Linked DNA regions of Homo sapiens: all the other regions are linked to region 5. Evidence: promoter capture Hi-C in 16 types of primary human blood cells and fetal thymus (Javierre and others, 2016). All regions are on one chromosome and are shown on one strand. Each heading gives the region's core, a stretch centred on a gene start or on the middle of the fragment in contact. The rest is flanking DNA. Distances are from core to core; before and after follow the strand shown. Region 1 overlaps YARS2 (tyrosyl-tRNA synthetase 2). Region 2 has its middle 5.8 kb from the start of DNM1L. Region 3 overlaps SINHCAF (SIN3-HDAC complex associated factor). Region 4 overlaps FGD4 (FYVE, RhoGEF and PH domain containing 4). Region 5 holds the start of RESF1 (retroelement silencing factor 1). Region 6 overlaps SINHCAF (SIN3-HDAC complex associated factor). Region 7 overlaps DENND5B (DENN domain containing 5B).

Evidence for each region. Contacts are between HindIII fragments. The CHiCAGO score rates a contact against its expected background, and 5 or more counts as called.
Region 1: a contact is called between a fragment that was not itself captured here and the fragment with the promoter of RESF1 in region 5, in 2 of 17 cell types (total CD4 T cells and naive CD8 T cells). The highest score is 7.7, in total CD4 T cells.
Region 2: a contact is called between a fragment that was not itself captured here and the fragment with the promoter of RESF1 in region 5, in 6 of 17 cell types (endothelial precursors, total CD8 T cells, naive CD8 T cells and 3 more). The highest score is 7.9, in endothelial precursors.
Region 3: a contact is called between a fragment that was not itself captured here and the fragment with the promoter of RESF1 in region 5, in 1 of 17 cell types (non-activated CD4 T cells). The highest score is 8.1, in non-activated CD4 T cells.
Region 4: a fragment that was not itself captured here is called in contact with the fragment with the promoter of RESF1 in region 5 in 1 of 17 cell types (neutrophils); the score reaches 7.7 in neutrophils.
Region 6: a contact is called between a fragment that was not itself captured here and the fragment with the promoter of RESF1 in region 5, in 7 of 17 cell types (total CD4 T cells, non-activated CD4 T cells, activated CD4 T cells and 4 more). The highest score is 9.9, in total CD4 T cells.
Region 7: a contact is called between a fragment that was not itself captured here and the fragment with the promoter of RESF1 in region 5, in 1 of 17 cell types (naive B cells). The highest score is 5.1, in naive B cells.

The regions. Positions count from the first base shown.
Region 1 is chr12:32,746,123-32,749,440 of GRCh38, forward strand. YARS2 (tyrosyl-tRNA synthetase 2) reads right to left here. Exons shown (of 5, transcript NM_001040436.3): 5 at 422-1,241. The coding sequence ends at 1,082. Among named protein-coding and RNA genes, the nearest start is that of YARS2, 8.1 kb to the right of the region's middle. The HindIII fragment of the contact is 1,542 bases long and covers 871-2,412 here.
Region 2 is chr12:32,671,814-32,675,093 of GRCh38, forward strand. No RefSeq gene overlaps it. Among named protein-coding and RNA genes, the nearest start is that of DNM1L, 5.8 kb to the right of the region's middle. RefSeq lists an enhancer at 2,381-3,280. The HindIII fragment of the contact is 2,090 bases long and covers 393-2,482 here.
Region 3 is chr12:31,298,679-31,301,580 of GRCh38, forward strand. All of the region lies in intron 1 of SINHCAF (SIN3-HDAC complex associated factor), which reads right to left. Among named protein-coding and RNA genes, the nearest start is that of FLJ13224, 24 kb to the right of the region's middle. The HindIII fragment of the contact is 557 bases long and covers 1,046-1,602 here.
Region 4 is chr12:32,472,469-32,475,564 of GRCh38, forward strand. All of the region lies in intron 1 of FGD4 (FYVE, RhoGEF and PH domain containing 4), which reads left to right. Among named protein-coding and RNA genes, the nearest start is that of FGD4, 74 kb to the left of the region's middle. The HindIII fragment of the contact is 4,250 bases long and covers 1-3,096 here.
Region 5 is chr12:31,957,864-31,960,781 of GRCh38, forward strand. RESF1 (retroelement silencing factor 1) reads left to right here and starts at 1,552. Exons shown (of 6, transcript NM_018169.4): 1 at 1,552-1,628; 2 at 2,914-2,918. It overlaps LOC105369725 (a long non-coding RNA gene), which reads right to left and starts at 1,441. Exons shown (of 2, transcript XR_931503.2): 1 at 1,265-1,441; 2 at 630-941. RefSeq lists an enhancer at 1-470 and a silencer at 1,523-1,862. The HindIII fragment of the contact is 2,403 bases long and covers 764-2,918 here.
Region 6 is chr12:31,314,379-31,317,621 of GRCh38, forward strand. All of the region lies in intron 1 of SINHCAF (SIN3-HDAC complex associated factor), which reads right to left. Among named protein-coding and RNA genes, the nearest start is that of FLJ13224, 8.3 kb to the right of the region's middle. The HindIII fragment of the contact is 2,530 bases long and covers 678-3,207 here.
Region 7 is chr12:31,389,484-31,392,673 of GRCh38, forward strand. It overlaps DENND5B (DENN domain containing 5B), which reads right to left. Exons shown (of 21, transcript NM_144973.4): 18 at 3,131-3,190; 19 at 2,784-2,910; 20 at 1-15. Among named protein-coding and RNA genes, the nearest start is that of LINC02387, 22 kb to the left of the region's middle. The HindIII fragment of the contact is 2,331 bases long and covers 698-3,028 here.

The DNA of each region.
Region 1 (3,318 bases), core at 392-2,891, 790 kb after region 5:
AACCAATTTAAGTTTCTAAATTTATAAAACATTGCTACCTTAGGAATCCACTGACAACAAGGCTTAATGTGAACAGAATTATACTGGAACACAGGCAAGGAACCAGAAAACTGAATTAGAAACTTTCTGAAAAGTCACGTACTGATTTTTGTACTATTATTTGTAAAGAAACTACTTACTGTAATTTCTCAAAGCAACCATGGCCTCATCTAACTTTTTCTCCTTTTTAAGAACTACATTTGCTCTCTGAACTACAAAAAAATCAAATTTCTATTCAAAGTTTCTAATACTAGTTTTCCCATTTCTAATGTGGACACTAGAGGCCCTGATGATTTTATAAACAACTATATAACATTAGTGACATCGGTGCTCCATACCTGATAGAAAAGCAGCTACAATTCCTTTTTTTTTTTTTTTTTTTTGAGACAGAGTTTCACTCACTACTCATGCTGTCTCCCAGGCTGGAGTGCAGTGGCGTGATCTCAGCTCACTGCAACCTCCATCTCCTGGGTTCAAGTGATTCTCGCAGCTCAGCCTCTTGAGTAGCTGGGGTTACAGGTGCCTGCAACCACATCTGGCTAATTTTTATATTTTCAGTAGAGACGGGGTTTCGCCCTGTTGGCCAGGCTGGTCTCAAACTCCTGGCCTCAAGCGATTTGCCCACCTTGGCCTCCCGAAGTGCTGGGATTACAGGTGTGAGCCACCATGCCCAGCCTCACAATTCCTTACACTACCTCTTTTTCATTGTTCCTCATCACTACAAAAAGGAGAGCAGGAAGGGTAAGATAGGAAAGCAGCATTTCTTTCTCTTCTGAAGTATAATTTTAAAAAGAGATTAACCCTGAAAATCATGGTTTTCTATGGTAATCAAGCTTTGTACATCAGAAAATAAAACATCCCATTATTAAACAAATATTTATTAACCGGCCCATAAAAATAATGAAGTTACTCACACTGAGTCCTAGTCCATTCTGTTTTTCTGATTTGCATAAGCAAAGGTCTAAGTTCTGGAGCCAACCCTTCAGAGGTCTTGAGAATGAATGATGGGTAAGTTTATTTGGACAACCAGAAGGACTTTTCATCACAACTGAAGCCATTTTATAATGTAGAAATTTCTTTTTCCTATTTTAAGTAAGGAAAGTCCATTCTTGAGAATATGTTGTCCAACAATTAAAACACTCTCAGGATTTGTTACTTGTTGGTGATTTATGCTGACTCCGCCTTCTGTTATCATTCGATACCTAAAAAATAGAAACGTTTAGTAAGTAGAGAGATCCAATCACTGTTGATCTGTCCCCCAAAAAAGACTGTTTCACTTAGATTTCAGAGGCTCTCCAATTGAGAAGATTTCATTTGGCACTGGACTGTTACCTTCATGTTTGCTCTATTATTAATAGATTCTGCCTCTCTTTACTGCTCTTTGTTTTTTGTTGTTTGTTTTTGAAACACATTCTTGCTCTGTAGCCCAGGCTGGCATGATCTCAGCTCACTGCAACCTCCGCCTCCTGTGTTCTAAGTGATTCTCCTGCCTCAGCCTCCAGAGTAGCTGCGATTACAGGTGCATGCCACCACACCTGGCTAATTTTGTATTTTTAGTAGAGATGGGTTTCGCCATGTTAGCCAGGCTGGTCTCAAACTCCCAACCTCAAGTGATCCACCTGCCTTGGCCTCCCAAAGTGCTGGGATTACAGGTGTGAACCACTGTGTCTGGCCGGAATTTACGCCTTGCAATCTGCTCTTTTAAAGACTCCGTCTCAAGAAAAAAAAAGAAAGACCTAGGAGAAGTTGTTCTAGGAGCACACTGGGTAGGTGAGGGCTGAACATTTCACTGAAAAAAGAGATACTTAAACTGGGAGTGAAGCTACCTTGACAATCAGGGCAGGAAACATGGGAGCAGCTAGAAAGAGGTGAGATCTGAGAAGACAGGGCTACAGCGTGGCTAGATCTTGGAAGTCCTTAAGAAAGAAAAATGGTGGTTTTCTCTCATCTGAATGTTACCAAATAAAATTAAGAAACCACTACTGGACATGGTTTTAAAGATATTTTTATACCTTTATTTTTGGGTAGAGACGGAGTCTCACTACGTCCTTGCCCACACAGATCTTGAACTCCTGGCCCCAAGCAATCCTCCCGCCCTCAGCCTCCCGAAGTGCTGGGATTACAAATGTGAGCCACCATACCTGGCCATGGACATGGTTTTATAAAACTCATCAGTAAAATATTTTCTACTTAAGGCCAGATTCCTTTCTTTTAGGAAGTATTATTTTACGCTGTCTGCTAGTTTCCAGATCATGTTCTATGTTTAATTTAAATGCACCAAACCTATTTAGCTTATATAATATTAAAAAAAAAAATCAGTATTACTTAGAGCCCTGGCTAAATCAGATGTGGTGTCATTTTTAGTAGTGGTAAAGCTTCCAGTATTAGCGAACACACTATAGTAAAGTTCAGAAGAAAACGAAATCTGCTTCCATAGTGAGGAAAATTATTTGTCTCGCTGACATACTACAGGGAAGTATATGACACCAGCCTCAAATTCACTGTGTGTTAAACCAGCAGATGAGGGAATCACTAAGGTGGAGTGGCAGGTGATGCAAAGGGAGACAATGGGTGCTTTTTCCAGGCAGAATAGTCTAGGACTCTTTAGGACACAGGCAAACAATCCAAGACAGTTGAAAGAGAACAACTATAACAAATGTCATTCATAATCATGGCCATGATATGGCCGATAACCATTTGACTTCTGTGTGAACTCCTGCAAAAGAGGCACCTGGGGGTCTTCTGGCTACCCAACACTTTTCCTTCCACCTCACTGTTCATTTAAAAATGGATAAGCATCAATTATATGCTGAATTATTTTTTGTGAAAAACCTTATTTACTCCTTAATACCTCATAACTGATTAATTAAAATATTCTACTCAATTCCTGAATAGAAAATGCAATTCTCAAGGGGATTATTATATAGTTTACAATAATAGTCTTATGACGTTAGTAGGTTAGTGCAAAAGTACTTGCGGTTTTGGCCATTATATGCTCATTTCATTTTCAGAAATTCAGTTAATACTATAGATAGGTTAGGTAACCTTTCCCATCCCCGAATATAAAAAGGATACAGACTATGAGAGGGGCTGTGTTAATCTGTTACATAGGGCCTCTGTTTCTGCATCCCTCTAAAACTGTGACCATATCCCTAAGCCGTACACTGATGCCAGTGTATTTACTGAACATGTCCCTCAAATGCACTTTTCCAGTGTTGGAGGAAAGACTGACTGGGTTAGATATAATAAGAGACAGTATAGGAGTACTGTACTATTATA
Region 2 (3,280 bases), core at 188-2,687, 710 kb after region 5:
AGGCAGAGGTTGCAGTGAGCTGAGATTGTGCCACTGCACTCCAGCCTGGGCTACAGAGCGAGACTTGATCTCAAAAATAAATATATAAATATAAATAAAATAACTCTATTATCTCAAATAGTTTCTAAAATATGCCACAAATTTTGATGGTAGGAGGATAAAAAGAAGGGCTACGTTCTATTGGGGTGTGGGTGTGGAGCAAAGGGAAGAAATCAGGACCATATCTTAACTCCCAAGTTATTTTGTCGTTAACTGCTCTTAATTGTGTTGTCACACTGCCCTCTCATGGTCCCGTCAGTATCTCACCAGATTCAATTTCTGGCTTCTGAACCATCTGGCCAATTCCACCATCTGCAAACAATTTCCTGCACCTGCTAACAAAGTATGTGTTAAGCTTGAGGCCTGGGGAGTAGCAAATTGATTAAAGCTGTTTACTTTATCATCTTTGCAAAACACGGGCAGTTTCCAAAATATGACAAAGAGGCTTCCCCAACAGAGCTGTATATTTTATATTAACATTAGATCCCCACTAACCGCTATGATTTGAAGGTGCAGATACCGGCATCTTGGCTGTGATTGATGATCAAAATGTTGGCATAAAATGATATTGGACACATGCGATAAAAACAGTCTGACCTTTTCCAAGATCGATTAATTTCCAGTTATTAATTTAATCCAAAATAAACTTCCTCTAATTCGGGATTTTAAGTTAGAACAAAGCCAGGCTACTCCCTAGCTAAGTAACTTGGCATCTATTCTAATGAGGAGTCCTATGCCAAGCCAGACTCATATGTGTTGGTGAGATTTGATTGCCAGTCCTGGTTGCAATTATATCAATTCAGAGCTGCTTAAATCCTTGTTATTCCAGATTTTCCAAATAAAAAAGAAAAGAAAACCCCATATCCAGTAGACTAATATTATGTAACACGCTTCATACGAGGTAGTGGGGGAACCCAGCTAAATAAGATAATCACTTCTGCCCTTCGTGAGCTCACTATTGGTGAAGGGGGAGGGCATGTTAGTGCCATATCCACGGTTCCTCCCTACTCTCCAGCAAAATATACTGCCTGGCTAAGATCCGTATGCCTAACAAGTACTTCATCAATATGTGTTGAATTAATGAAGAAAGGAATAAATACACGAGGCAGAATGTGTAGCGGTTGAGAGTTTGCTGCCGGGCATGGTGGCTCACACCTGTAATCCCAGCACTTTGGGAGTCCGAGGCGGGTGGATCACCTGAGGTCAGGAGTTTAAGACCAGCCTGACCAATATGGTGAAACCCAGTCTCTACTAAAAATACAAAAATTAGCCTGGCGAGGCGGTGTGCGCTTGTAGTTCCAGCTACTGGGGAGGCTGAGACAGGAGAATTGCTTGAACCTGGGAGGCAGAGGTTGCAGTGAGTTGAGATCGCACCACTGTGGCGACAGAGTAAGACTGTTTCAAAAAAAAGAAAAAAAAGGGGGTTTGCCAAAAAGCCCCTTTTCATCCCATCTCTGCCACATACTAGCTGTGTAAATTTACCACTTCACTTCAATCCCTGGAGCCTCCGTTTCTACATCTCTAAACCTACTTCACGAGGCTCTGATAAAATGCTTAGTATAGTGCCTCACATACAATAAGCACTTAAATAATAGTTCAATAATATTGTGTGAAAAGGGCAACAAGGAAAAATGGAGAAATTCATATGGTTAACTATGGGGATTAGAATTCTGATGTTATGTGCTGTACAGCACATGTACATTTAAAAATATGGGAAAGTTGGCCAGGCGCAGTGGCTCATGCCTGTAATCCCAGCACTTTGGGAGGCTGAGGCGGGCAGATCACGAGGTCAGGAGATCAAGACCATCCTGGCTAACATGGTGAAACCCCATCGCTACTAAAAATACAAAAAATTAGCCGGGTGTGGCGGTGGGCGCCTGTAGTCCCAGTTATTCGGGAGGCTGAGGTAGGAGAATGGCGTGAACCCAGGAGGCGGAGCTTGCAGTGAGCTGAGATTGCACCACTGCACTCCAGCCTGGGTGATAGAGCAAGACTCTGTCTCAAAAAAAAAAAAAAATATATATATATATGTATATATATGGGTAAGTTACTGAATTTGGGGAAGTTCTTCAAGGTGAATAAAGAAGTTTATTCTTGCAAACCAATTTATTCCATGAGATAGGAAACATGATCTTTGGAGACATTGACTCACATGCTTACAGTTCTATAACCAGAGAGAGAAAATATTTTTGTTCAAATTCAGGTTAGGAAATTCTCAGAGAAGGATTCTAAATGGTCCTGCAGGTCCATCCCTAGACCAATCACCTTAACCAGGTGCAGTAGGCCCCTCCAATAAGTCCATGTCCTAATCCCTGGAGCCTGTGAACTTTATGTCTCAGGAGAGACTCTGTAGATGTGATTAAGGGTACAGGCCTTGAGACAGGGATATTATCCTGGGTTGTCCAGGTTGGCCAATCTAATGATGGGCCCTTAAACACAGAGAAGCTTTTCTGGGGGTCAGAGGCCTGATGACAGCAGAAGAGTTAAAGAGATGCGACATTGCTGGCTTTGAAGAGGTTGGAAGGAGGTAACCAGCAAGGAATGCAGGGGGCCCCTAACAAAGGCAAGGAGGTGAATTCCCTGCTAGAGGCTTTAGGAGGGTTTGCAGCCCTGGTGACACCTTGATTTTAGTCCAGTGAGACCTGTGTGAGACTACTGAACTATAGAACTGTAAAACAATACTTTTTTTTTTTTTTTGACATGGAGTCTCACTGTGTTGCCCAGGCTGGAGTGCAGTGGCGTGATCTTGGCTCACTGCAAGCTCTGCCTCCCAGGTTCACGCCATTCTCCTGCCTCGGCCTCCCGGGTAGCTGGGACTACAGGTACCCGCCACCACGCCCGGTTAATTTTTTGTATTTTTACTAGAGACAGGGCTTCACCATGTTAGCCAGGATGGTCTCAATCTCCTGAACTCGTGATCCGCCCGCCTCGGCCTCCCAAAGTGCTGGGATTACAGAAGTGAGCCATTGCGCCTGGCCACATTTTTGTTGTTTTAAGCCACTAAAATTGTGGTAATTTGTTAAGGCAGCAATAGGGAACTAATATACTAGAGAAGCAAGGCAGAAACCAGGTTCCTAGGTTTCAGTTCCTCCCCAGTTCTCTCTGCCTCATCTGCTGTGAGACAGCTTGCTGAATGAGATCCCCTACACCCTCCCCCACAGCACACTCACCTCATTCCACAGGAGTAAACTGCGTGAGAGAATGAAATAGACGATGTAGTGATAAGATGTAGAGCTCTGAT
Region 3 (2,902 bases), core at 74-2,573, 660 kb before region 5:
TACTAAGCACACAACTAGCTCACTATGCATCAGCCCATACTACTTTGCCTAATGGGAATTCAGAGGGGATTTCTTCTGTGATAAATGGGAAGTTCTAAGCAGTCAAGTTTGCCCCTGAATTGAAACTGCTGAAGGGAAGATGTAAAATTCACAAAAATCCAAGGTTAGAATTTAATAATAATAATTCCTTATTATCATTAAGACAAAAAAAGAACGAGCTCATGTTGTCTGACCGCTGATCTGCCCCTTAGTTGTTAGAGGTTTGTGGACCTCTTCTACAAGGCTTTGTGCCTGAGAGTAGTAACAGTGGGAGGCAAATGTCCCAGAGACGTAGAGTGAAATAAATTGCAGTCCTCCTGTTAAAAAAAAAAAAAATCTCAACGTCAAGGAAGGAATGAAAACAGCTCTGGGGCTGGATGCAAATATGTAGCTGGCAGTAAATCTGTACCTTAGGAAAAGTAATTTGGAATATCCAAATCAAGGGCCAGCTCACCAAAACAACCGGACTAAGAGAGGTGATGAAAAGGCAATGAATATAGAAACTAAACTCCAATGGACAAGTCAGAGGATGTGTGTATGTATGAGGGTCTAACTATAAATTATCACAAAATTATCACATAAAGCAACAATAAAAGAAAAAAATTTTTTTTTTTTTGGAGACAGAGTCTCACTCTTTCACCCAGGCTGGAGTGCGGTGGCGCGATCTAGGCTCACTGCAAGCTCTGCCTCCCAGGTTCAAGTGATTCTCCTGCCTCAGCCTCCCTAGTAGCTGGGACTACAGGTGCCCGCCACCACACCCGGCTAACTTTTTGTATTTTTAGTAGAGACAGGGTTTCAGCATGTTAGCCAGGATGGTCTCGATCTCCTGACCTTGTGATCCACCCGTCTCGGCCTCCCAAAGTGCTGGGATTACAGGCGTGAGCCACCGTGCCCGGCCAAGAAAATTATTAATATCACTTTCGTGTCCATAGTTTTAGGAGTTATTACCACAGAACACTATCTTTTTAAAGTTGTTTTAGAAATAAACTTAGATGAGTAAACCTAAAGCTTCAGTACAGTCATGTGTTGCTTAACAATGGGGACACATTCTGAGAAATGCATCATTGGGCATCCTTGTGCAGACATCAGTGTCCTCACATAAACCAAGATGGCAATAGCCTACAACACCCCTAGGCTATATGGGATAGCCTACTGTTCCAAGGCAACAAACTTATACAGCGTGTGACGGTACTGAATGCCGTGGGCAACTGTAATACAATGGTAAGAATCTGTGCATCTAAATATAGAAAAGGTACAAAAAAATATGGTATCATAATCTTTTGGGACCACCATCATATATGCAGTCTGTGGTTGACCGAAACGTCCTTGTGTGACATATGGCTGTATTTGTCTTTGGATTATCTCGTCTGATCCCATTCCATTCCAATTCTGGTTAGTATAATATAGCAAGTATTAATGAAAATGATTCAGAACCAAATATCCAGGCTTTTTATGTGTATTTTTTTGGTATTGAGGGGTTTTGAAATATAGACAGAGGTTTTACAACTTTTAAAAGAAAATTTTTTTAAAACTTTTATTAGCAAATAATTAGCTAAAAACTGAAGCTTCCCTTTCAAACAGGCTATTGTTAATAAACTGTTCCTCTGCCATGTTTTTGTTGGTGAGAGAGGCAGGCAAAAGAGTGGGATGGGGGCAAGGCAGAAGGCCTTCATGCATTTCAATAATTAAGTCTAAACAGTTACCTCTAAGAACTGTTTTAAAAAAAACATTTTTAGTTGATAATAATTTTAGTTAAATGCTTGGGAATTTGATGTCTTTGAGAGGAAGAAAAATGAGGAAGTACCCTCTACACAGTCATAAGAAAAGATCTAGAGAGGCCTGCTCAAATGAGGCAGATTTTTTTTTCTCAATCCAACAACAAACCCATATGATAACTGAAAAGAAAATCCTGAAGAAAATGGTCGCATGTTGCTTTGGAAAAAACAATGTCAAATGACAGAAGATTGCAGAAACAAGAAAGCAGAGTAGCAGTTATTGCTTTAATTTGTGTATTCCTGTTTTAAGGCAAAATGTTAATACGGCCCTCGTCCTCACACCACCCTGCGCTCTTCTCCAAACTCGCCCAACAGCTTGCATTACCATCAAGAAGGTCAGAGAACAGTTCCTCTAATACTCTCCAACTTCATCCATAACTCTTGGAAACTTCAGCCTCCCTTCTCAGCAAGGACAAAAGAAGCAGAGCAAAAAAGGCCAGTTCATTCCATTAATACACAGACCAAATCCTATTACGACAGACAGATTCCTATCTCTACCCTCACCATCTCTTTCCCTTCCCCCAAATAAACAAGTCCTCAAAGCTATCAGCATTCAGCTCATCTCTAGGATGTGAACTACCTTCACTGAGGTTGGATTTGACCAAGACGCCATAGTTTGTGCCAGTTACCACACTGCTAAGCTGTTAAGGATGTTAGGGTTATAGGTGAATATTGAGGCTTTCTTTTTAATCAGCAGCCATTGTGAATTAAGTGTTCCTCTTCAATGATTTTTTTCTGCTGGTGGGGACCTCCACAAAACTTACCCAGCACCCCTAGCAAGACATTCCAGTCATAAGCTGAGGAATATTCTTCTTAGACATAGGGGAGAATAGGCTGATGTCTTAGGATTCATAATCCATTTTCATATAGTTCCGTGACCTTACTTTTGTCCTGACAAAATTATTCTGCCTGAACATCTGAGAGGGATCTAAATCCTAGGGCTTACCCTCTCCTAGGCAATGCTCAGTGAGAAATGCAATGAGGTGGCAGACACCTGTCCTTATGCAACACACAAGGAGCATGTGAACCTTTTAATGGATGACAACTTAATAAACCTATTAAGCCTTTTCTGAGCTTATCCTCACACT
Region 4 (3,096 bases), core at 7-2,506, 510 kb after region 5:
GCAGTGCTGGCCCACCGGTGCTGCGCTCAATTTCTCGCTGGGCCTTGGCTGCCTTTCCACGGGGCAGGGCTCGGGACCTGCAGCCCGCCATGCCTGAGCCTCCCACCCACTCCATGGGCTCCTGTGTGGCCCAAGCCTCCCGGACGAGCACCACCCCCTGCTCCACGGCGCCCAGTCCCATCGATCACCCAAGGGCTGAGGAATGCGAGTGCGGGGCGCAGGACTGGCAGGCAGCTCCACCTGCAGCCCCGGTGCGGGATCCACTAGGTGAAGCCAGCTGGGCTCCTGAGTCTGGTGGGGACGTGGAGAGTCTTTATATCTAGCTCAGGGATTGTAAATACACCAATCAGCATCCCGTGTTTAGCTCAAGGTTTGTGAGTGCACCAATCGACACTGTATCTAGCTGCTCTGGTGAGGACGTGGAGAACCTTTATGTGTAGCTCAAGGATTGTAAATATACCAATCGGCACTCTGTATCTAGCTCAAGGTTTGTAAACACACCAATCAGCACCCTGTGTTTAGCTCAAGGTTTGTAAATGCACCAATCGACACTCTGTATCTAGCTGCTCTGGTGGGGCCTTGGAGAACCTGTGTGTCCAAACTCTGTATCTAACTAATCTGTTGGGGACGTGGAGAACCTTTGTATCTAGCTCAGGGATTGTAAACGCACCAATCAGCACCCTGACAAAACAGGCCACTGGGCTCTACCAATCAGCAGGATGTGGGTGGGGCCAGATAAGAGAATAAAAGCAGGCTGCCCGAGCCAGCATTGGCAACCTGCTCGTGTCCCCTTCCACACTGTGGAAGTTTTGTTCTTTTGCTCTTTGCAATAACTCTTGCTACTGCTCACTTTTTGGGTCCATGCTGCTTTTATGAGCTGTAACACTCACCGCGAAGATCTGCAGCTTCACTCCTGAGTCCAGCGAGCCCAGGAGCCCACTGGGGGGAAGGAACAACTCCAGACGCGCCGCCTTAAAAGCTGTAACACTCACCGCAAAGGTCTGCAGCTTCACTCCTGAGCCAGCGAGACCACGAACCCACCAGAAGGAAGAAACTCCGAACACATCTGAACATCAGAAGGGACAGACTCCAGACGCGCCACCTTAAGAGCTGTAACACTCACCGCGAGGGTCTGCGGCTTCATTCTTGAAGTCAGACCAAGAACCCACCAATTCCGGACACACCTGGGTGCAGCTCATCTCAAACTGAAGACCTATGAATTAAAAGCACACGTTATTTTCCGTTCTTCCCCACTTTCCACCCCAACATATAATGGTAAGGCAGGGACAGGAAAATTACATCAGATATTCCTCTTCAAAAAGATATTAGGAGCTGTGGACCGGGCGCGGTGGCTCATGCCTGTAATCCCAGCACTTTGGGAGGCTGAGGCGGGCAGATAACGAGGTCAGGAGATCGAGACCATCATGGCTAACATGGTGAAACCCTGTCTCTACTAAAAAATACAAAAACTTAGCCGAGCATGGTGGTGGGCGCCTGTAGTCCCAGCTACTCGGGAGGCTGAGGCAGGAGAACGGCGTGAACCCAGGAGGCAGAGGTTGCAGTGAGCTGAGAGCGCGCCACTGCACTCCAGCCTGGGTGACAGTGCGAGACTCTGTCTCAAAAAAAAAAAACAAAAAGTATTCGGGGCTGTGGAGAAATCAGAGCCCTGACACACTGCTGGTAGAAATGTAAAATGGTACAGTTGCTTTGGAAAACAGTCTGGGTAGTTCTTTGAAGGTTAAACATAGAGTTGCCATATGACCCAGCAATTCTGTACCTAGACATATACTCAAAAGCAATGAAACCATAGTTCCACAGAAAACCTTGTACATGAATGTTTATAGTTGCAATATAATAGCCAAAAGGTGGAAACAACTCAAATGTCCAGCTGATGAATAGGTAAATAAAAAGTGATATGCCTGTATACTGGCATTCTTTTGGCTGTACGAAAGAATAAAGTACTCCTACCTACAACATGGATGAATCTTAAAAATGTACTAAGTGAAAGAATCCAGTCACAAAAGACCATGTGTTGTATGCTTCCATGTATATGAAATGTCCCAAAGAGCCAAATCTATAGACAGAAAGATTAGCGTTGCTTAGGCTGGGAGGGCTGGAATGGGGGAAGGTGATAGCTAAAAGGTATACGGTTCTTTTTGGGTTGGGAGAGGTGGCTCATGCCTGTAATCCCAGCACCTTGGGAGGCCAAGGTGGGTTGATTGCTTGAATCCAGGAGTTTGAGAATAGCCTGGACAACATGGCGAAATTTCTACAAAAAATACAAAAATTTGCCAGGCATGGTGTCGTGTGCCTGTAGTCCCAGCTACTCGGAGGCTGAGGCAAGAGGATCGCTTGAGCCCAGGAGGTTGAGGCTGCGGTGAGCCGTGATTGCACCCCTGTACTCCAGCCTGGGTGACAAAGCCAGACCCTATCTCCAAATTAAAAACAAATTTATTTTTGGTGTGATGAAAAGGTCTAAAATTGATGGCGGGTATATGTATCTGTGAATATAGTAAAAACCTTGCCATTGTAAACTTATTTAAACAGAAAAAAGCAGCAGATGTGACTGGGAGGCACATGACCTTCACTGGTGCATAGCATTTCTGACATTTAGCTCGATCTATATCCTTGTTGAGGAACTAGTTCACTACCTGGGTGCCTCTCTTTGGCCCTCATCTCCATCCCCTAGGCTCTTGGCTGTCTTCTGATTCTTTTCCACAAGAAATGGCCTGTGTTTTTTGGCGTCTTCCTGTCCGAGTAGGGTGCTAGTATTTTTCATTTTTAACTGGCTCTATTAGTCCAAGCTGATGGTGTTTCCACTGGTATATTTCTCTGAAATGCCTTTTGGGTTTTACCATAGATGTCTTAGGGGTTCACAACATTAGGTAAAAAATACTCCCACAAATCGTTTTAAGATAGGGCTTTCTTTACCTTGGATGCCTTTGTATCAGACTGTCATGTGAAAATAACCTTTTATTGTCAAAAGCTCTACTGTCTGGTTTAGTTGGTACTCAAAGCACCCACTTAAGATTCTTTAAAGCCTTTTGGTCTAGTTATGTGATTCCAAAAGCACGGGTGTCTGTACCAGCAGCATTT
Region 5 (2,918 bases), core at 302-2,801:
CACACGGATGCGCGTGACACAAAGTGCTGGGGTTACAGGCCTGAGCCACCACACCTGGCCACCCCCAATCTTTAAGAATATTCTGGCCGGGCGCGGTGGCTCATGCCTGTAATCCCAGCACTTTGGGAGGCTAAGGCGGGCGGATCAAGAGGTCAGGAGATCGAGACCATCCTGGCTAACATGGTGAAACCCCGTCTCTACTAAAATACAAAAAATTAGCCGGGCATGGTGGCGGGCGCCTGTAGTCCCAGCTACTTGGGAGGCTGAGGCAGCAGAATGGCGTGAACCTGGGAGGCGGAGCTTGCAGTGAGCCGAGATCGTGCCACTGCACTCCAGCCTGGGCGACAGAGCGTGACTCCGTCCCCCCCCCAAAAAAGAAAGAATATTCTGTATGTAGTTTTTTTGTTTTGTTTCTGACAGACGCAAACGCACTCTTCTAGTAATGACTAAAGACTTCTTCGTTTAATTCACCAATGAACTAATCTGACAATTTATGTAACAAATAAATTCCTATAAACATAAGCTCCCTTGCCCCTCTCCAGTGGCACAATCTCTGATTTGCCATCCTGGTTGCAACCTTCATTACTAAGTAAACGCTTACGTAAACCTTAATAATGAGATTCGGGCAATATGATTAAATATTGGTTTATTTGAGTGCAAAGTTTGAGGATGGCGACCCGGTAGGACACAGACTCCAAAAGATGGGGGTCAGTGCTTCGAAAGGGAGAAGTTTGAGGGTCGTTTACACAGGCAGGGTCTGGGAAGCTTAACAGGATGTCAACATTTTCCATAGAAGGTTAACGCATAGCAATTTGATTGGTTCAAGGCAGTGTTTCTTTTTGGGAAGGGTCTATTTAACATTCCACATTAAGGATGTAATAGTCAAGCGGTCATTTATCTTATTCAATGCGTATTTTATCTCAGATGCCATCTGGTCTGAGCTGGGAACAAGAAAATAAGGGAGTTAATCTATAACAAAAGGTCGGCAATTAAGAGGTCGTGCTTCGTGATCTGGTCTCCAAAGTCAACTTTCCTCAGGGACTTTCAGAATCCCCAAATAGACTATCCACTTTCTTTCACACTTATTTGCCTCTAACTTGTTGATTTCTTTTTTTTTTTTCTGTTTTTTAAGGGTTAACAATCTCTTGGGTGCACTCTGACTTCCATGCGCTTTATAGAAAAAATTGGTCCTGAGGCCAGCAGCAACAGTCGGTCTCAGGAACTTGTTAGAAATGCACATTTTTCAGCCCCACCCCAAACCTACTGAATCAGCAGTTTTGCTGGTGGTTCTCAATCTCTCTTTAACGTGCCCTCTGGGTGCTGCGGATGCACGCTGAAGGTAGAAGATCGCTGCAGGAGATTTCCGCGTCGGGCAGATGAAAGCGCTCTGCAAGCCCGGGTGTTATCTGCGGGCCGGGTCCGCGGCTTCTCTGGTGGCACTAGGACCGCGGCGGCGCGGCCCTCGCAGCCACCGCCTCGGGCGTGAGGCGGAGCGTAGCTGTTCCTGGATCCTGGGCCTGGCTCCTCGACCCGCCCCTGGAGGCGGACCCCACTTGACTTAAACTCTGGGGCCCGGGAGGCCGCCGGTTTTCTCCCCGCTTGCCGGGGTGGTCCTCTTCCCTTTGTCGGTAAGTGTGAGACGAGCACCCCGAGGTCCCTCCGCCTTCCGGGGTCCGGGCGGGGCGGGGGCCGGGAGCCGGGAGCCAGAGGCACTCGCGGTCCGGGCCTGCGCGCGGCGCAGAGCGCTTTTGTTCTGCGGCAAAGACGCAGTCGCGGGCGGCCCCGGAACCCGGGCCTCGGGCCCCGCCGGCTCGCGCGTCCCGCCGTCCGCCCACCGGAGCTGGGCCGGGCCGCCGCGCTTGCTTCTGCCCGCCGCACCGGGGCCGGCCCTGGGCCTCCGCGGATGCCGAGCCTTGCACCGGAGGGCGGGCCTCGCTGGCTGTTTTCCCTCATTGCCTGGCTCTGCGCGGTAGAGGTCGCGAGTGGCGAAGGCTAGGACGCATTTTGTCGAACTGCGAGGCGCGGCTGGTGAGGCGGGTGGGTATGAGAGCTGCTTATGTTTTTAAGGCTTTCCTGTCGCTGGAGTGAAAAAGAAAAATCTTTTTTTTTTTTTGCTATTTCCCGAGGGTTCTCCTCCTCCCCGGCCCTCTTAAGCCGAAGCCTCCTGGAACAGAATTGCTGTACTGGCATCTATCTCCAAGTGGTCCGCGAACGCTTCTGCGCCGGCGATGGTTTCTGTTCCTCAGCAATAGTTCCTTGAGGCATTTTTAAATGCACAAACGCATACCCATCTTAGGTGTTCTCGAGGGACACGGATTCCCTAAGCAAACGTCCTTAGGGTCCTGAGTTCAGCAGCAAACTTTCGGGGAATCATTTCCGTGAAAACAATTTATTTGTAGTACATCGAGTGCATACTGTCTTAACATAAGGATGTGTATGAGCTTGAGGCGCATTTTCATTTAGTGGCGGGCGGGTGCATTTCAGTAGGCGGGCCGCAGAGCTTGTTTGGGGATTGCATTTTTCTGCTAAATGTGTTAGCTTTAATCATGTTTCAGTCACTGTTAATGTGCATGCATGTTAAGGTTTTAGGTTTTTTCCCCTGTGCAGTCGGATTTTTTTCTGTTTAATATTAATCCAATAAAGACAAGTGCAGAGATAAAGTATTATTGTTTTGCAGTGATACTACAATAGCGGACCTAGAGGAGCGCACATAAATTCTAACTTAAGTGAATGGTATTTTCAGGCCAGACCTAGTTTCTATTTCTGTTACTTAGGACACTTAATAAGAATTCAGTAAACTTAGCATGCTTTCAGTGCAGCCATAAAAGAAAACAGTTTTGCACAGCAGTGTCATATCTAGTAAACACATTAGCATGTGCTCTTTTATTATAAAATGTTTCTTGCTGTCCCTAGGACCA
Region 6 (3,243 bases), core at 693-3,192, 640 kb before region 5:
AGCCGGGCGTGGTGGCGGGCGCCTGTAATCCCAGCCACTCTGAAGGCTGAGGCAGAAGAATGGCGCGAACCCGGGAGGCGGAGTTTGCAGTGAGCCGAGATCGCGCCATTGCACTCCAGCCTGGGCAACAGAGCGAGACTCCGTCTCAAAAAAAAAAGAAAGATGAAGATAGAGTGAAGGTGTAGGTGGTGAAGGAGGCCCAAAGAGAGGTACTTCTGAAGATTTTTTTTTTTTAATAGGAGAGTATATTTGAGAGCTATCTGTTAACACCTCTAAGTTGTTTATCAGCATTCTATAAGGAAGAAAGATCATCCTACCCACTTTTGCTACTTTCAAGATACCACTGGAAGTAGTTTCCCCATTCTGGTTGCTTAATTTTTGCACTAGCACCTTCCATCCTGGTCTGCATATATCAAAGGATCTGCATTTAGGCCATTGTGATGTGGAGTCATTCTTCAGTCATCCTGGTCCATTTGTTTAAGTAATTACACAATGAGGCACCCCAAGTACTGTATATTAACCCAGCTGGGGTTTCTAAAGGTGGAATCAGATGTTCTGCAGTTGCAGGGGATTTAGTCGATTTAGAGGATTTGTTCTCCATAATTTTTAATACCTTCTCATTAGATTGACTAAGTCAGGAGGTGTTCTGAATCTGAATGTGCTGCTTGCAAACACAAAGCTTGAGGATGCGCACCCAGGAAGCACAAGTTCCAGTAGCTTATTACCTGTGCTCTGAAGTAGACTGCATGAGGCACAGTCTTTATATATTTTTTAAACAGGAAAATATGTGCGGTATGGTGAAGCAATAGTTGAGAATTTGGTTCATATTCAGTGATGTTATGCCTAAAGTCAAGTAAATATGTGGTTGAGTGGGTAGAAGAGAAAAGTTAATAATTGTGTAGGCACCTTAGGGTCTGGTGGAAGGATGATTGATTCCATCCTGCCTTTGTTCTGTATCTGATAAACAAGTTTACAACCAGTATCTGTCAGTAAAATATTTAACAAACTCCAGTTACAAACCCAAGGGGTCAGCTTTAGTTTGTAGGCAGTGGTTTAATTATGCATATGTCCAAACTGCAGCCATCTTGGACCAGTTTTATCTTTTCTTCTGACACCATCTATCATCATCTATCTGTCTACAGTATGCTGTCTGAAGTTTCTTCAAATAGGACAAACATTTTGAGAAGTTCCTCAGGATTTGAAAGGTTACAGTTAAAACATGCCTATTTATGGGAGTTTGTAACGCTTATCTCTGACATAGCTGTTTTTGCAATATACACACATTCCTGGGCCAGAAAGAAATTTAGAGGAGGACTGTGTTGATCAGTTTTTTCTTTTATTTGCTTTCACAGGTGTAATAAATGTGTTGCTTAAATTTTAAGTTGTCATTTGTATAGCACTTTACATTTTATAAAGCACTTTCACTGGCATTCTTTCTTTGACTACTATTAGCCAAAAACCCAAAAATTGTTTTAATACTGTAACAGTTAAAAACAATCAACCATGGCCGGGCGTGGTGGCTCAAGCCTATAATCCCAGCACTTTGGGATGCCAAGGTGGGTGGATCACCTGAGGTCAGGAGTTTGAGACCAGCCTGACCAACATGACGCAACCCTGTCTCTACTAAATATAAAAAAATTTGCCAGGCGTAGTAGTGGCAGACGCCTGTAAATCTCAGCTACTCAGGAGGCTGAGGCAGCAGAATTGCTTGAACCCGGGAGGCAGAGTATGCAGTGAGCCGAGATTGTGCCACTGCACTCCAGCCTTGGGGACAAGAGCAAAAATTCATCTCAAAAATAAAAAATAAAAAAAAAACCATGCCATAATTATAGCTCTGACCAAATAAACTGAATATCCCAAAGTTAAAAAAGATTAAAGGTAATAGCTAAGTCAGCAAAAGCAATTTAAAAAGATAACTAATTATATGGACAATATATATAAACAAAAAAATAAAGTTTTAAAACACAACAATCAATTCTAAACATCTGTTTTGGCTGATTTGTAGGGTTTTCTTCTACTTTAAAGCTGTGGGTTTCATATAAATTTAATGATCTTAATGAATCTAACTTAATGAATCTAACCTTGGTGCTGATGAGTCAAGAAAGGGATGAGATAACCACAATATATCAAAGACACAAAAGGGACAATTCTAATCCCATCTAATGAAATTGGGAAGCCAAAGATCAAGAATAACGTCTAATTTTACATCTAATTAAACACATAAGTTTACTGAATATAATAATATACATAGGAAAGAAAAAGAGTTTCACAGCGATAGTTTATATTAAAGACGCTATTTAAGAAAAGTTTTCTGATAAATAAGATTAAAGATTATCTCTTATAAATCTCAGCAATACTAAATACTTGTTCATTTTAAGCTCCAACCAGGAAACAGAATGAAAAATACTGAAATGCAAATTTTAGAGCTTTAGTACCCTTTTTAATATGGAATAGGAGACAGAGAAAAGGTGATGAATTTAATTCAACTATTTTCTTGTCTTTTTAAATCTTTATAAGGGTGTTAACTCACATTTAAGGATATGGAGAGGGTTCTTATTACGATGAATTTAACATATGTTAAGTTCACCTTAGTTGGCATGCATGCTTTGAAGGACATCATTATTTACTCTAACTTCCCCAATTCCACTTTCTAGATTCCTTCTTCTGGCTTTTTTATATATTCAGAAGTAAAGCGTTTTTTAATATTCAAAAGTACCTTTCAAAACTCAGTAATACCACTGGGTGGACTAGATGGAAGAAAATTGAGAGCAATAGTCAAACGTGGTAAATAACAGTTAACTTCACAACTGTCCAAGTCATCTTGGGAACTGAAATTCTGATATGCACAAATTAGGGGAACAACCTCCCAAATGAAACTATCCTTAAGTTTCCAATAAACCAAAACCCTAGCTTCTAATTATCATTTTTTTCTTTCTAAAAATCAACTGGCCTAAGTCTTTAAAAACAAAAAAAAAACACAAGATAGTTGAAGTGACTTAAATGTCAACGAATTTTCAGACTGGTTAAATTATGGTTGAAACACCACAGCACGCTGTTTCAACCTTTAAAGCAAGTTGAACAGTAGTAATACAGTATAATCTCACAGGATGTTTTTAAAATGAGACTGTAACTACACAAACTTCTTTTTAAATTGGTTCTTAAAAATAGTAAATAGTGGTTGCCTCTGAGGAGTACAAGCATAAAAGAAGCTTACTTTCACTTTACTACCTCCTGCTTTTTTTT
Region 7 (3,190 bases), core at 613-3,112, 570 kb before region 5:
AAGCAACCACTTTCTCTGAGGAAAAAAGTCAGAATTATGTCACAATATGTGTCAACACTTCATATATAGAAAGATTCATCACTTAATTTATTATGGAAACACTAACGATGCTTTGCATACAGTCAGTCCTGAAGCCAATATCATTACTTTATCATTGATTTTAGGGGTCGATGTTTCATGGTAGAACAATAAATATGCTCCCAGGAATTTATTTTCTAATTTAGACTGCATTCCAGAAGACTGGAAAGTTTACTCCCTTTAAAATACCTTCAGGAAACAGAAACTGGCAAAAAAGAAAACAAAAATAGCATCTTCTGTTAAGACTGGAACCTTCTAGGAGTAACCAGCAATGACACGGTAGCCATTGAAATAATACCCCATGTTCTAGTTACAGAATGACTTGCTAACACTTTGCAACAAGATCCTTGAAATGTACCTGAATAAGTACCTGACAAAGAGAGATATATGTATATACACATGAGAAGCAGAAGCAATAAGATTCTAGGCATTCCAGAAGAAAAAAAAAAAATCACTCCTGGGGGCCTATCTCTGACAACTTTCCTTTTTTTGTCTATTCTAAGTTAGATGAAATAAACTACTTCATCTAGGCCTTATTTAGAAAACACAAAATGATTAATTGCCCATTTAAAGAAACTAGGAATTCTAGAAGAGCTGCATACCAAAAGAAAGATCACAAAGCTTAGCAAGCTAGAACAGAAACACTCCAAAAGAGCTTCCTGTGATGATGAAAATGTTCTCTATCTACAAGGTCCAATTTGGTAGCCACAAGTGGCTCCTGAGCACTTGAAATGTGGCCAGTGTTATTAAGAAAATGAAATTTACATTTACATTTGATTTAAATTAAATAGATTTGGCCAGGCATGGTGGCTCACGCCTGTAATCCCAGCACTTTGGGAGGCCAAGGCGGGCAGATCACCTGAGTTCGGGAGTTCGAGACCAGCCTAGCCAGCATGGTGAAACCCCATCTCTACTAAAAATACAAAAATTAGCTGGGCGTGGTGGCAGGCACCTGTAATCCCAGCTACTCAGGCTGAGGCAGGAGAATTGCTTGAACCCAGGAGGCAGAGGCTGCGGTGACCCAAGATCACACCATTGTACTCCAGCCTGGGCAACAGAGCGAGACTCCATCTAAAACAAACAAAAAAAATTAAATAGATTTAAATTTTAAATGGCTATATGTGGCTAATGGTTACTATACTGGACAACACAGAGCTAGAGGAATCCTTTTACAAAAATTGGCCAGGCACAGTGGCTCACACCTGTAATCCCAGCACCTTGGGAGGCCAAGGCAAGTGGATCACTTGAGGACGGAATTTGGGACCAGCGTGGCCAACATGGCAAAACCCCATCTCTACTAAAAATACAAAAATTAGGGGTGTGGTGGCAGGTGTAATCCCAGCTAATCAGTGGCTGGGGCAGGAGAACCGCTTGAACCCAGGAGGCAGAGGTTGCAGTGAGCTGAGATGGGGCCACTGCACTCCAGCCTGGGCAGTAGAGTGAGTCTCTGTCTCAAACAAACAAACAAAAACGTTCTATCATGTCACTACTTAGCTCAAAACCTTCCAACAGCTTCCAGTTTCATTCAGGATAAAGGCTGAAATCATTCCAATGACCTAGAAGGCCCTACACAACCTGGCACTGGCACTAAACACCCCCTCCCCCAATCTCCTACTTTCTCTCTCTTGCTGTGCTCCAGTCACACTGGGCTTGGAGTTCCATGGAAACACTTCCGCCTTGGGGCTTAGCACTGGCAGTGCTGTCAACCTGGAGTCCCTCCTCCCAGATATCTACATGGCTCACTTCCTCACCTACATGAAGTCTGTGCTCCAATGTACCTTGACATTCAGCAGAATCTAAAACCACCCCATTTGAAAGACCACTCCCCACTTTATTTCCTTTTATACTGCTCTATTTCTTTCCAGATCAATGGTCACATTTCTGACATACCATATGAATTACATATTTGTTATGTTTTTGTGTATTGTTTGTTTCCCACACCGACCTGAGTATAAGTTTGTCAACCATAGGATTTCTGTTTTGTTTACTAATGTATATCTTGAGCAACTCAAATACTATTTGGAATATTGTGCATATTACAATTTGTTGAGTAAATGAAAAACAAAGACAATACTTGATATTTATTTATCATTATTATATACACTTTTTGAGACACGGTCTCACTCTGTCGCCCAGGCTGGAGTGCAGTAGCTTGATCATGGCTGACTGCAGCCTTCACCTCCTAGGCTCCTGGGCTCAAGCGATTCTCTTGCCTCAGCCTCCCAGGTAGCTGGGACCACAGGTATGTGCTACCACACCCAGCTAATTTAATATTTATTTTAAAATATATATATCCTTGCCGGGCACGATGGCTCACTCCTGTAATCCCAGCACTTTGGGAGGCTGAGGCGGGTGGATCACAAGGTCAGGAGTTCAAGACCAGCCTGGCCAATATGGTGAAACCCCTTCTCTATTAAAAATACAAAAATTAGTTGGGCATGGTGGTGCACACCTGTAGTCCCAGCTGCTTGGGAGGCTGAGGCAGGAGAATCATTTGAACCTGGGAGGCGGAGGTTACAGTGAGCCAAGACCGCACCACTGCACTCCAGCTTGGGCAACAGAGTAAGATTCCGTCTCAAAAAAAAAAAAAGAAAAAAAATATATATATCCTTATCACTAACCCTTATTCACTCAGATTCCTGGGTCTTTGAGTTCCTAAGAAAGGCTTCAGTGACCTTAATGTAATACACATCTACTTTATTTACCTATGAAGTCCCAGATGAAGACATTCTTGTGAAAGATGCGGGCAGATTTGAACCCATGGTGGAAAACTTGCTCAAGGGCTGCAACCAGGCCATTTTCTCCACACAGCAACACGGTGAGGCTTCCTCTCTGTGGGGCATAACACACAGTGCCAAAGAAAAATCTCCTGCATCTATGTCTAAAAAAAACACTAGAGAAGCAAGTGCTGAAGGTAGCTATATGAAGCATGTTTTTACAGCTACCAGAAAGCTTACAAATGAAAATTCAAGCACCCCATATTGCCTCGTGTATCACATATAAAAGCATCTTTAAAAGTCCCACTATACTAAGTTTTATAGCCCATAAATACCTCTTTTTCAGGTTTATGAAAATGTTTCACAATATTGTTCACAGCTTCTCCAATTCCTTC